2 separate regions of the Homo sapiens genome follow, and region 2 is linked to region 1. The links are contacts of gene promoters, found by promoter capture Hi-C in blood cells and fetal thymus (Javierre and others, 2016). All regions are on one chromosome and are shown on one strand. Each heading gives the region's core, a stretch centred on a gene start or on the middle of the fragment in contact. The rest is flanking DNA. Distances are from core to core; before and after follow the strand shown.

Region 1 (5,886 bases), core at 2,067-4,566:
CCACCGGTCTCGGCCTCTCAAAGTGCTGGGATTACAGGCATGAGCCACCGCCCCAGCCAGCCTAGATCTTAAAATCAAAAAAAGTCCCAAAGATCAACTTCTGTCTCTGGAATGTTAAACGTTACTGTTTGATAGATGAGGCAACTGAAGTTTGTAGAGCACCTTGCCTGAAGCTTCAGCCCACAGCAGGAATAAGGGACAGAGCCTAGAATGCTTCTGCATCAACAGGGAACAAAGGCATGGGGTCTCCTCTCTGTCCACCTTCCCTTCCCACAGCCCAGGCTGAAAGGGCTGCCCTAGGCGCTCCTGAGGCCTCCTCTCTTATGGGGCTAGAGCTGAGGGAACCTGGGGTTGGTAGCCATCCAGAGACCTAAGGCGTGCCCTGACCCAAACCAGGAGTCACCAAGAGACTGCCTCTAGAGAATAGGCGGGGAAGGGAAGTCACACCAAGTCCAAGCGCAGAGTTCAGAGGGCTGAGGAGGGGTGACGCGGAAGTACAAATGAGTAAGCAGCAGTTAGGAAGTGTGCCAAGTCCTGACGTGCAGAGTTCAGAGGGCTGAGGAGGGGTGACACGGAAGCACAAATGAGCAAGCAGCAGTTAGGCAGTGCAGGAAGAACACACAGGCGGAGAAGGGAAAGCGAACGTCCTGCTCTGCTGCAGGCTATGAGGGCAAAGGCAGACCCGGGAGCCCACTGTCCTACAGATCCTTCTTCTTGAATCCAAATCATGCAGCAAAATAAAAACAAAACCCCCAAACCATGGGGCACCCGAATCCTTAAACAAAACCCCTACTGCTTGAGGCTACGTGAGCCTCTGCTGCTGCCGCCACTACAGCAGGGGCTGAAGCTGAGAGCTGAGAGTCACGGTTCACCTGTAGGGCCTGGGATGCAGCCAGCCTTCAAAGCACGGTTGTTAGAGATGAGTTTGAATAAATGCATAAATACTCTGTTCCCATATCCTCATTTCCCATGACGTCCCAGTAATAACTCTGGATGCCAAGGCTTCCTGGCTCGTCAGTTGCCCTCACACACATTTATTGCATTTTATCTTCATAACCACCCTGTGGGAAACCCAAGGCTGATATTAGCCTTGCTTTGCAGATAATTATCATCCCCATTTTACCGCTGAGAAGATTGAGGCTTGAGGAAGCTAATAACTTGCTTAAGGTCATAGGCCAGAGGAGACAGAACCCAGTGTTCTTTCCCCAGAGGAGGCCTCTTGCCAACACCCCACACTGCTTCTGATGAATTGCCAGGAAACAATTTTAACTTATCTCAAACAATATTAATAGGACTACACTTAAACTCCTCCCAAACACATCCAAATGTGTGCCCTCACCCTCTCTCCAGCCTTGTCCCGTGACCAACCCAACCAAACTTCCGAAAGGGTTTTTTGTGTTCTAGGAAGTGACCGAGCCCCACAACCCTTTATGCCTGTGCGTTCAGAGGATTTGTGACCTTTTTTTTTTTTTTTGAGATGGAGTCTCGCTCTGTCGCCCAGGCTGGAGTGCAGTGGCGGGATCTCGGCTCACTGCAAGCTCCGCCTCCCGGGTTCACGCCATTCTCCTGCCTCAGCCTCCCGAGTAGCTGGGACTACAGGCGCCCGCCACAGCGCCCGGCTAATTTTTCGTATTTTTAGTAGAGACGGGGTTTCGCCGTGTTAGCCAGGATGGTCTCGATCTCCTGACCTCGTGGTCCGCCCGCCTTGGCCTCCCAAAGTGCTGGGATGAAGGGCAGGGAGAGGGAGGGGGAGGGCACCGCGCCCGGCCCACCTGGTGTCTTTCAATCAGGGAAAGAAAAAATAGTGGAGGAGGAAACGGCAAGGTTGGATTCACTGCGAAGGCTGACTGTACAATAAGAAGCAAAAGGAAAAGCGGTTCAGTTGTGAAAATCAGTGTCAGCCCTGGGTGTAGGGGAAGGTCCTCTCCACAAACCAACAGAACACCTCCCCAGCCCCGAGCACCTCTGCCGAGGCACCCGGCCCACTGGAGGGCTGAGGGCGGATAACCACGATAACTGAAAACACTTTCCTGAGCGTCTCGGGGCTGAGGAAGAGGGAGGATTACACGCAGCCCACTGGCTTTGCAACCTCGTCTGTAGTGGTGGAGTGAGTGCAGGTCCAGAAACAAACCAGACCGGCCTTGAAATTCTGCCCTAACTTCAGAGCTGTAATCCTAGGCAGGTTACTTTTAATACTTCTGAATCTTTCTTTACATGTAAAATAGAGGTATTGTATTCGCTGCACAGGGTTGTGAATATTACATGGGTGTTCGACACGGAGCTAGGCACTCGGTGATGTTGGCTGTCGTCACTGGCATTCACTGTTACGAATTTGCGGAGTACAGAAAAGCATAAAAATAAATAGGTCACCCTCATCCTACCTCTGTGACAGACCATCTAGTCTTTGCTTTTCCTACTCAACAAGCTTTCCAGCTCTTGGCGTCAGCTCTAGACCTAAGGCGGACGGAGGAAGGGGTCGGGGTGGCGGAGGACCCCGCGCGCCTGGGAGCCCACGAGGGACCCTGCCCGGGCCCGGAGGGCGGACCCTGAAGAGAACAGAGCCTCTTCCTAAGCTTCCAGACGGCGCCTCCCCGCTTCCTACGATGGGCTCGCGCAGCGGCCGGGGCAGGACCGAGGCTCGAAGCGCCTCCGAGGTGAGCCAGTCCGAAGGCACAGGACGGAGCGCTCCGAAGTCAGAGGTGTGCGGGACGAGCTCTGCAGACGCCTGCCAGGCCGCGCCGCACTGCGCGCTCCCTCCCTCACGACCCTCCTCCTCCGGGGCTGCCCTCCCTGCGGCGGCTGCAACTTCAGTCCTCGTCCTCGGGCGGCTCAAGACGCAGGAAAACCGCCCCCTTCCTGCGCTCCTCACACCCGAAGGGGCCCTCCCGACCCGAGGCCTCCGGCGCCGCCCTCCTGAGCGCGGGCCTCTACTCGCAGGCGGGATTCCGGCCCGCACCATCCGCCCTCGCCTGTGACCGAACCCTGCGGGTGACGCAGGCTGCCCGGGCGTGAGGCCCCTCGGCGCGGGCGGAGCACGACCACGCAGCCACGACCCGGCCGGTTATTCACCCGCCAGGCCCTGGGAATACAAGGCCGGCTTCAAAAAAACCAGGGCACCCGCGACCTCCTCGCAGACGCGCGCCCCCATACCCGGGCCTCAGGCAGCCACGAGGTAGACGGGCTCAGGCTCGGGGGTGCGGCAAGCGGCACCCGGGCGCGGCGGGGCGCAGCTGTGGGGACCGCGCAGGCGCCACGTCAGACCCCGCCCACCCCGCCGCGCAGGCGCCGTGTAGCGCCCCGCGGATCACGCAGGCGCGGCTTTCAGGCCAACATGGCCGTGCTGCTGCTGCTGCTCCGTGCCCTCCGCCGGGGTCCAGGCCCGGGTCCTCGGCCGCTGTGGGGCCCAGGCCCGGCCTGGAGTCCAGGGTTCCCCGCCAGGCCCGGGAGGGGGCGGCCGTACATGGCCAGCAGGCCTCCGGGGGACCTCGCCGAGGCTGGAGGCCGAGCTCTGCAGGTAAATCCCCGCGGAGTCCGGGCCCCACCTCCCGCCCGGCTCTGCTCTGTAAGGCCCAGCCCGGCGGGGCGGGTCGGAGGCCGCCTGGCCCCTGCGGCGGGGGAGCCTGCGCCTGTGGGCCCGCGGATCCCCCAGCTGTGGACCTCGGCGCGGAGCGACTGTTGGGGCCCTGGATCGTGGGCGCTGGGCGGGCCGGGAAGAGGCAGGGCTGGGATCCGCGCAGTCCTCGGCGTGGACTTTCCCAACCCGTCTGTTGTGTGTGGATGTTCTCCGCCCGTCTTCCTCGCCTTTTAAAGTGGAATCCAGTAACGGTTTCCGGCGTAGCACTAATTTACAGTCCACGCCTGTGGATCGATTCCGTCACCAGGAATTCCAGCGCCTTCCAGTTAGGGTGGTTATTGCCGAGTAGGGGGCCCAGAACGTTTCTGTGTCCGCAAAATACCCTGTAGCTGCATTTTGCTGTTGTCATGTAGCTCGGCACGTTATTGATACAGTCATTGAGCACCCCCTGTAGTGCGGCCTTGTTTCAGGTTCTGCTAAGGATAGGATAGCATCTCCTCCCGAAAACCAGACCTTGTGTCCTTCAGCTTTTGGGCTGATGTTTTTTTCTCCTAGCCCTCGCCTAGGAGCTTAGCCCACACCTTTTAGGTTGTTGTTTTTTCGGTTATTTTTGAGACAGAGATCTCGCTCTGTCGCCCAGGCTGGAGTGCAATGGTCTTGGCTCACTGCAACCTCCGCCTCCCGGGTTCAAGCGATTCTCCTGCCTCAGCCTCCTGAGTAGCTGGGATTACGGGTGCGCGCCACCACACCCAGCTAATTTTTGTATTTTTAGTAGAGACGGGGTTTCACCATGTTGGCCAGGATGGTCTCCATCTCTTGACCTTGTGATCCGCCTGCCTCGGCCTCCCAAAGTGCTGGGATTACAGGGCGTGAGCCACCGCGCCCGGCCATAAAACATATTTAAATGGGAAAATGTTTATCTTGAAAGGAGAACTCTGAAAGTATATACTTGTTAACTGGTTTGGTACCTGGAAATGTTCTACAAGGAGCCACTCTCTGGTGACAGCAGGAGCCCCGTGTCTGGGCAGCCACTGTGGCCTTTGGAGAGCTGGGCTGCTCCCTTTCTCCTGCAGAAGCTTCAGGCCATGGGATAGCAGCCAATGTACTTCTGTGTTTTGTTTTCTTCTTTTTTTTTTTTTTTTTTTTTTGTGACAATCTCGCTGTGTCGCCCAGGCTGGAGTGCAGTGGCCTGATCATGGCTCCCTGAAGCCTCTGCCTCCTGGGCCCAAGCAATCCTCCCACCTCAGCCTCCCAAAGTGCTGGGATTACAGACATGAGCCACCGTGCCTGGCCACTATCGTGATTTTTTGTTTGTTTATTTGTTTGTTTTTTGAGATGGAGTTTCCCTTTGTTGCCCAGCCTGGAGTGCAGTGGTGCTATCTCGGCTTACTGCAACCTCTGCCTCCCGGGTTCAAGCGATTCTCCTGCCTCAGCTTCCTGAGTAGCTGAGATTACAGGTGTGCACCACCACGCCCGGCTAATTTTTGTATTTTTAGTAGAGATGAGGTTTCACCATGTTGGCCAGGCTGGTCTCAAACTCCTGACTTCATGTGATCCACCCGCCTCAGCCTCCCAAAGTGTTGGGATTACAGCCGTGAGCCACCACGCCTGGCCAATTACTGTGTTTTAACCTGTTTACTTGCTTTTGACATTTTGATGTTACCTAAAGCTTTGACCTATTGCTCAGACTATTACTTTATATTTCAGGGCAATGTAGATATTACAAATAATTATATATTTGAACTTTTAAAAACGATTTTTAGTCTGCATTGCTTTGGTACTCTCTAATGTTGGTGTGACCTCCAGTATTGTTTTTTTTTTTTTTTCAGAGCTTACAATTGAGACTGCTAACCCCTACCTTTGAAGGGATCAACGGATTGTTGTTGAAACAACATTTAGTTCAGAATCCAGTCAGACTCTGGCAACTTTTAGGTATGTATCTGTTTAAAGAAGCAGCTGAGCATGACTGCACACTTACCGCCTCAGCTACTTGGGAGGCTGATCTTTTTTTATTTTAGAGACGGGATCTCGCCCTGTTGCACGGGCTGGAGTGCAGTACAATGGTGTGATCAGAGCTCACTACAGCCTAGAACTCCTGGGCTCAAGGGATCCTCCCCACTTTGCTTCCGGAGTAGCTAGGACTACAGGCGTGTACCGTCACACTCGGCTAATTGTTTTTTGTAGAGACAAGGTCTCACTTTGTTGTCCAGGCCCAAAGGGGCCTCTTTACTCCCTTATCCCCCAGTTGCAGAGCCTTGACCTCTTAGGCTGGAGTGATCCTCCCACCTCAGCCTTCCATAGAGCCAGGACTC
Region 2 (5,886 bases), core at 1,286-3,785, 110 kb before region 1:
CTTTTCTAAACTCCAGCCTATTTCTTCACATTCTACTTCTTATTCAAGGCCTATGCAAATGCTAACCCTCAGTGGAGCCTCCGGCAAGCCCAGTCCCCAGGAAACACGGTCTCCCTCCCTCTTCTTCACCTGCATACCTTCTCTCACAGGAGCCTCTGGAAGTCTCCCTCAGGACCTGGCACCTTCTTGCTACATCATAAATACCTTGAGAGCACGACGCCAGCCTCATTCACCTGTTCCCACAGGTGACATGGCTCCCACCCTGGGACCAAGAGAGTCCACTGTACACATTAAACTTTAGTTTCCTCTTTTTTTTACTTTTTTTATTTTTATTTTTTTTTTTTTTGAGACGGAGGCTTGCTCTGTAGTGCGAGACCACTCAGGCAGGTGGAGTACAGTGGCGCAATATTGGCTCACTGCAACCTCTGCCTCCTGAGTTCAAGCAATTCTCCCACCTCAGTCCCCCATGTAGCTGGGATTACAGGCGTGTGCCACCATATCCAGCTGCTTTTTTTTTTTTTTTTTTGTATTTTTAATAAATAGAGACGGGGTTTCACCATGTTGCCCAGGCTGGTCTCGAACTCCCGACCTCAGAGTGATTTGCCCGCCTCAGCCTCCCAAAGTGGTGGGATTACAGGAGGAAGCCACTGCGCCCGGCCTAGTTTCCTCTTAGGTGGAGTAATCACGTCCACCTCAGAGGATTTGTAAGGGTTAGAAGGGGAAGCAGCCGGGCCGATGGAAACATGCAGGAACTATCCCAGCTGGGCCTATTGCCCTTCATTCTGGAATCTGGCAGAGCTCTGCATGGCATCTCGCATGAAACAGGCTCTAAGTATTTAATGAATAGGAGGAGACATGTCAGACAGTGGGAATAATCATGCTGATCTGCATGAGGAAAATGTGTCAAAAAACAAAAGCCAAAAAGTCACGAAGAAAGTGCTTGTAATAGAGACTAGTTTACTTGTGAGGGCTACGAATAAGTGAAGCTCAAACCACTAGGTGCCAAACATGAAAGTGGGTTCCCAGACCCCAGTGTTTGCTGACTGCAACACAGCGGTGCCTGCAGCTCACAGGGTGCTCCTCCCCGCCTCCCTAGCCCTCCTGGAGACTCCACCCATCACAGTCCCAGGTTCCAGGCAGGCTTCCCAGGCCACTCAGCTGCTGCAAGCACAATGTCCTCCTGAGGTCAACGGGCAGGTGGCAGGAGCCTCTGACCTGCTTCCCTCCACGACATGGGCACGTTCTGGGACTGCAGTTCCACAGTGGTCTCCCATGTCCCTGGAAAGCAGCCGTCCGCCTCTCCTCCACACCTGCCACACTGCTCTCACTCATCAGGAAACTTCTCATCAGAAAAACAGCTCGTGGGCCAGGCACAGTGGCTCCCGCCCGTAATCCCAGCACTTTGGGAGGCCAAGGCGGGCAGATCACCTGAGGTCGGGAGTTCAAGACCAGACTGGCCAACATGGTGAAACCCTGTCTCTATTAAAATACAAAAATTAGCTGTGCGTGGTGGCAGGCACCTGTAATCCCAGCTACTCGGGAGGCTGAGGCAGGAGAATCGCTTGAACCCAGGAGGCGGAGGTTGCAGTGAGCCAGTATCGCACCACTGCACTCCAGCCTGGGCGACAAAAGCAAAACTCTGTCTCCAAAAAAAAAAAAACAAACAACCTTTTGTGGAAAAACGAGTGTATTTTCCACTCCTCGTCTCAATAAAACCTGCGAAGACTGCTTTCATATACAGGAGTCGTGTTTTATGACAAAGGCTCCATCAAGGATGCTGTAAAATTACACACAGCCATCTCCATAATATATGGCCCCGAGAGTTACACACATGAGGTTATTGAGTTATTTTTCAAACGTCCAGACTCCTCATTTCCAATTAAGGCAGGTTGGCTGTAGCACTGTTGGAAAGCCTAAAGCTTTGTTTGCAGCCAATTCAGAGGCGACAGTTTTTCCAAGGCTACTTAGAGCTGATGAGAGAACCCCCTGTTAAAAAGATCTCCAAACCAGCAAATACATCACGGTATGATTTTAAGTCACTGCAATCCAGATCATCTTAAAAGTTCTGCAGGATTTGGAAAAACAAAGACAAATTATTAAACCAAGTGACCAGGCTGAAGCACAGGACAAGATGAAAGAGGGCCAAGAACAGGCAACACCACCACTCAAACGATCCAAGAGACTCCTGGTCTAAAAAGTTAGAGGCTTGGTCAATTTTAAGGCAGCGTCTTAACAGAAAGAATTATGCAAGCCAAGTAAACTGGCTGAGCCCCAGGGAAGGGCTGCGTACTGCCAGAGGAATGGGCTGGACTCTTTCCAGCTCCGTAATCCTGGGAGCAGCGTCGGTGTGGAAGGAACCCTGACGGCAAGCTGTTACATAAGAGCCCAGTCCTGCACTGCGGGGACATGGTCCGCTTGCTACTGGCATGCAAAGATCAAAGAGAGGAGACAGCGCTGGGATGCCAGCCCACGGCTGGGACACGTGCTGCTTCTGTGAGCATGCGCCCAGGAACAGACGCACAGACCCACCCGAACGGGGAACCGAATCTTACTTGTCCATGAGAATCCCAGGAGGGGACCAATGGGCCATCACATTGGAACCCTCTGAAACTGCACACACATTTGCAAGCATAGGTATCAGGGGAGGTAAGTGATACAGACTCTTCTAAGGGTGTGAAATGTTTGAAAAGTTGTCAATAAGCACACAGACTGACCTGATTCATTCAACAACATTTTCTCACCCAGCACACAGACTGAATAGCTTGGTACACTTGCTTCCCAGGTGTAAAACTACCTGCTTAATAACAATGCCTTCTCAGCTGGGTGACACCGCACTGATGAGCCAGTTCACTGGAGGACTGCTGGGGTGGTGCGGCAAGACTGTTTCAACGCACTACGTCCCGAGCACGCAGCATTCATCTTGTGCATATCCTTCATGACAAAACAAGTATGCACAAAGCACTGCTGCCGCACACCAGACACAGCGGCCTCTGGACAGGAAGCACCAATCTTCAGTCAAAGAATGACCGACCGACATGCAAACTCTGGTTGTTCGGACATGAGTACTGGCAGATCATTTCTAAAAAATGAAGGAAAGACAGCTGCAAGTTCAGCCAGAACACCTCAACAACTTGTTGTCAATGTGAAAATTCAAGCTTTCAAAGATAAGAATTTTGGAAAACTCCAAGAGCAGACAGCTTCTGAAGAACTAAAAGTCTCCCTGGAAGAGACAGGTGCTGCTTTCTGATGTAGTAAAATCAAGTGGATCCACGTCGGGAGATGCACACGAGTCCCGGGCACCCAATCGGCCCTTGGGTGCACACTGTGTGCTGACCTGGGTCACCTCCAGATGTGGACACACAGGCACACTCCCACACACACGCGACGGAGCCGCACTCGCCGCAAGAGAGACCAAAGGGAAGCCCTGAGACTCCCCTGCTGCTGGAAACGCTCACAGCACAAACACCTGCTGGGTTTTGGTGTCGTATCAATGAAAATCTCCATAATTATATCAAAAAGCTATTTATTAAAAATATGCTTCCATTTTCCCACTAGATTTTTTTTTTGTATACTTCAACTAGAACAACATATTTACCACAGACTGATGCAGGAACAGCGAGGAGAACCCTGCTGTCTTCTATGAAGCCACACATTAATGGGGTTTGTACAATTTTAAGGAAATGCTCCTCTAATTGCTATTTGTTGTTGTTGCTGTTGTTTTTGGGACGGAGTTTTACTCTGTCGCCCAGGCTGGAGTGCAATGGCGCCATCTTGGCTCACTGCAACCTCCGCCTCCCAGGTTCACGCCGTTCTCCTGCCTCAGCCTCCCGAGTAGCTGGGACTACAGGTGTCCACCACCACACCCGGCTAATTTTTATATTTTTAGTAAAGACGGGGTTTCACCATGTTGGTCAGGCTGGTCTCAAACTCCTGACCTCAGGTGATCCAGCTGCCTCGGTTTCCCAGAGCACTGGTGGGATTATAGGCATGAGCCAGGGGACTTGACCAGATCACTAATTTTTTATACTGGAAAATACAGGATTTTTTTTTTTTTAAAGAATGTGCTGCTTATATGCAATGGGCTTATTATTCCTGTTGTTAATTGGAATTGGTATACAGACATTTTCCAATCCTTCAGGTTTCAACTGGCAAATGCCAGCAGACATACCCACAGAGCCAGAGCTCCTCAGGCTCCTCCACGTCCAACGGCGTCTCACAGTCCTGAGGATGAGGACCTGGGTGAGGGGAGCACGGGAGACACAGCCATCAAGGCATCCACCTCCAGGACAGACACCAGCCAAGAACCCCCTCAGGGCAAGGCCTCTCACAAGTCCAACTCCACGGATTCCACCGTAAGTGCTGTCAACTGGATGCGCATTTACAAAATCTGAGTTTTCTCAAAGAAGCTGAAGCTTTCCGTGTCCTCAGTGATTCTGGACTCCCAGCGCCGTACCACTCCCTGCCAGCCACACAGGGGGACCCACAGGAAGCAGGCCTTCCCCGTGGCGGGCCTTGCTGCTATCCGCGCTCCTTTCTGTGCAGTCGTCCCTGACGGGGAAGGGTTGAGCCCAGCCAAGTGGATCCCTGGCTGCAGGACAAAGGTGTGCATGGCAAGGGGCCCACCTGCCTCAGGCTGAGGCATAAACTTTCCCTTTTCACTCAGGAAGGGTAAGACACAGTTCCCAGTTTTACAGTGTGCTTTTGTGGATGCTGACCCGGTACTGCTCTTGGAATGTCAAGATGAAGATGATGCAGAAGCCTCTCCTCTGAGCATCTTCTGATTGACAGGCAAGGGACTGGAGTGGAGCCCTTGGCAGCAGGCGGTGGCCAGGGACAAGCGGCCCGTGCCACGTCTCCCAGCTAGCTCACCACCAGCACACAAACCTTCGTCCTGGGCATGGGACTCTCCATCCCTGGTCAAAGCAGGTGCCTCGGGTGGCAACACAGGACCCTCAGACACTGATCTCCTGTTGTTGAATCGGTGCAATATTCACCCACCAAAAACAACCACAAAGCGCCTGTCACCAGTGACAATGTAGCACTGTCTATGTGAATAAAATTAAATTGTGTTTGGAGAATCTGGTGACGCTGTGAAACAGCTGAAGATTACCTGTAACCTCAGCGCTCTGGGAGGCTGACAAGAGGGACACTGTGAAACAGCTGAAGACTACCTGTGACCTCAGCACTCTGGGAGGCTGACATGAGGGACACTGTGAAACAGCTGAAGATTACCTGTGACCTCAGCACTCTGGGAGGCTGACATGAGGGACACTGTGAAACAGGTGAAGATTACCTGTGACCTCAGCACTCTGGGAGGCTGACATGAGGGACACTGTGAAACAGCTGAAGACTACCTGTGACCTCAGCACTCTAGGAGGCTGACATGAGGGACGCTGTGAAACAGATGAAGATTACCTGTGATCTCAGCACTCTGGGAGGCTGACAAGAGGGACACTGTGAAACAGCTGAAGATTACCTGTAACCTCAGCACTCTGGAAGGCTGACATGAGGACTGCTTGAGCCCAGGAGTGTGAGACCAGCCTGGGCAACACAGGGAGACCCCATCTCTTAAAAAAAATTTTTTTTTAACAAAACAATAAAAAAACAAAAATAGCTGGGTGTGTTGGCACCTGCCTGTGGTTTCAGATACTCAGGGGGCTGAGGCAGGAGGAAGGTTTGAGCCCGGGAGGTTGAGGCTGCAGTGAGCTATATGACTGTGCCACTGCACTCCAGCCTCAGTGACAGAGAGAGATTGTGTGTCCAAAAAAAAAAATCCCAATACACTGTTAGTGTCTCAAGCCCAGGTTAGAAATTACTCGTCTAGTCTCTGACAGAAAAATCAGGTGGGCTAAGCAAAGGTGCTTTCTGGCCCAGGAGTACAGATGC

Evidence for each region. The method cuts DNA at HindIII sites, captures the fragments that hold promoters and counts their contacts. A CHiCAGO score of 5 or more calls a contact.
Region 2: a contact is called between a fragment that was not itself captured here and the fragment with the promoter of SPG7 in region 1, in 2 of 17 cell types (endothelial precursors and M1 macrophages). The highest score is 5.5, in endothelial precursors.

What each region holds. Positions count from the first base shown.
Region 1 is chr16:89,505,087-89,510,972 of GRCh38, forward strand. SPG7 (SPG7 matrix AAA peptidase subunit, paraplegin) reads left to right here and starts at 3,317. Exons shown (of 17, transcript NM_003119.4): 1 at 3,317-3,514; 2 at 5,404-5,506. The coding sequence starts at 3,332. LOC101927863 (a long non-coding RNA gene) reads right to left here and starts at 3,234. Exons shown (of 5, transcript NR_188547.1): 1 at 3,151-3,234; 2 at 873-1,061; 3 at 1-67. RefSeq lists an enhancer at 762-811 and silencers at 2,631-2,700, 2,821-3,030, 3,101-3,660, 3,691-3,810. The HindIII fragment of the contact is 2,077 bases long and covers 2,572-4,648 here.
Region 2 is chr16:89,392,983-89,398,868 of GRCh38, forward strand. The region is part of intron 2 of ANKRD11 (ankyrin repeat domain containing 11); the gene reads right to left. All of the region lies in intron 1 of LOC128462377, which reads right to left. Among named protein-coding and RNA genes, the nearest start is that of ANKRD11, 95 kb to the right of the region's middle. RefSeq lists an enhancer at 1,952-2,890. The HindIII fragment of the contact is 1,236 bases long and covers 1,918-3,153 here.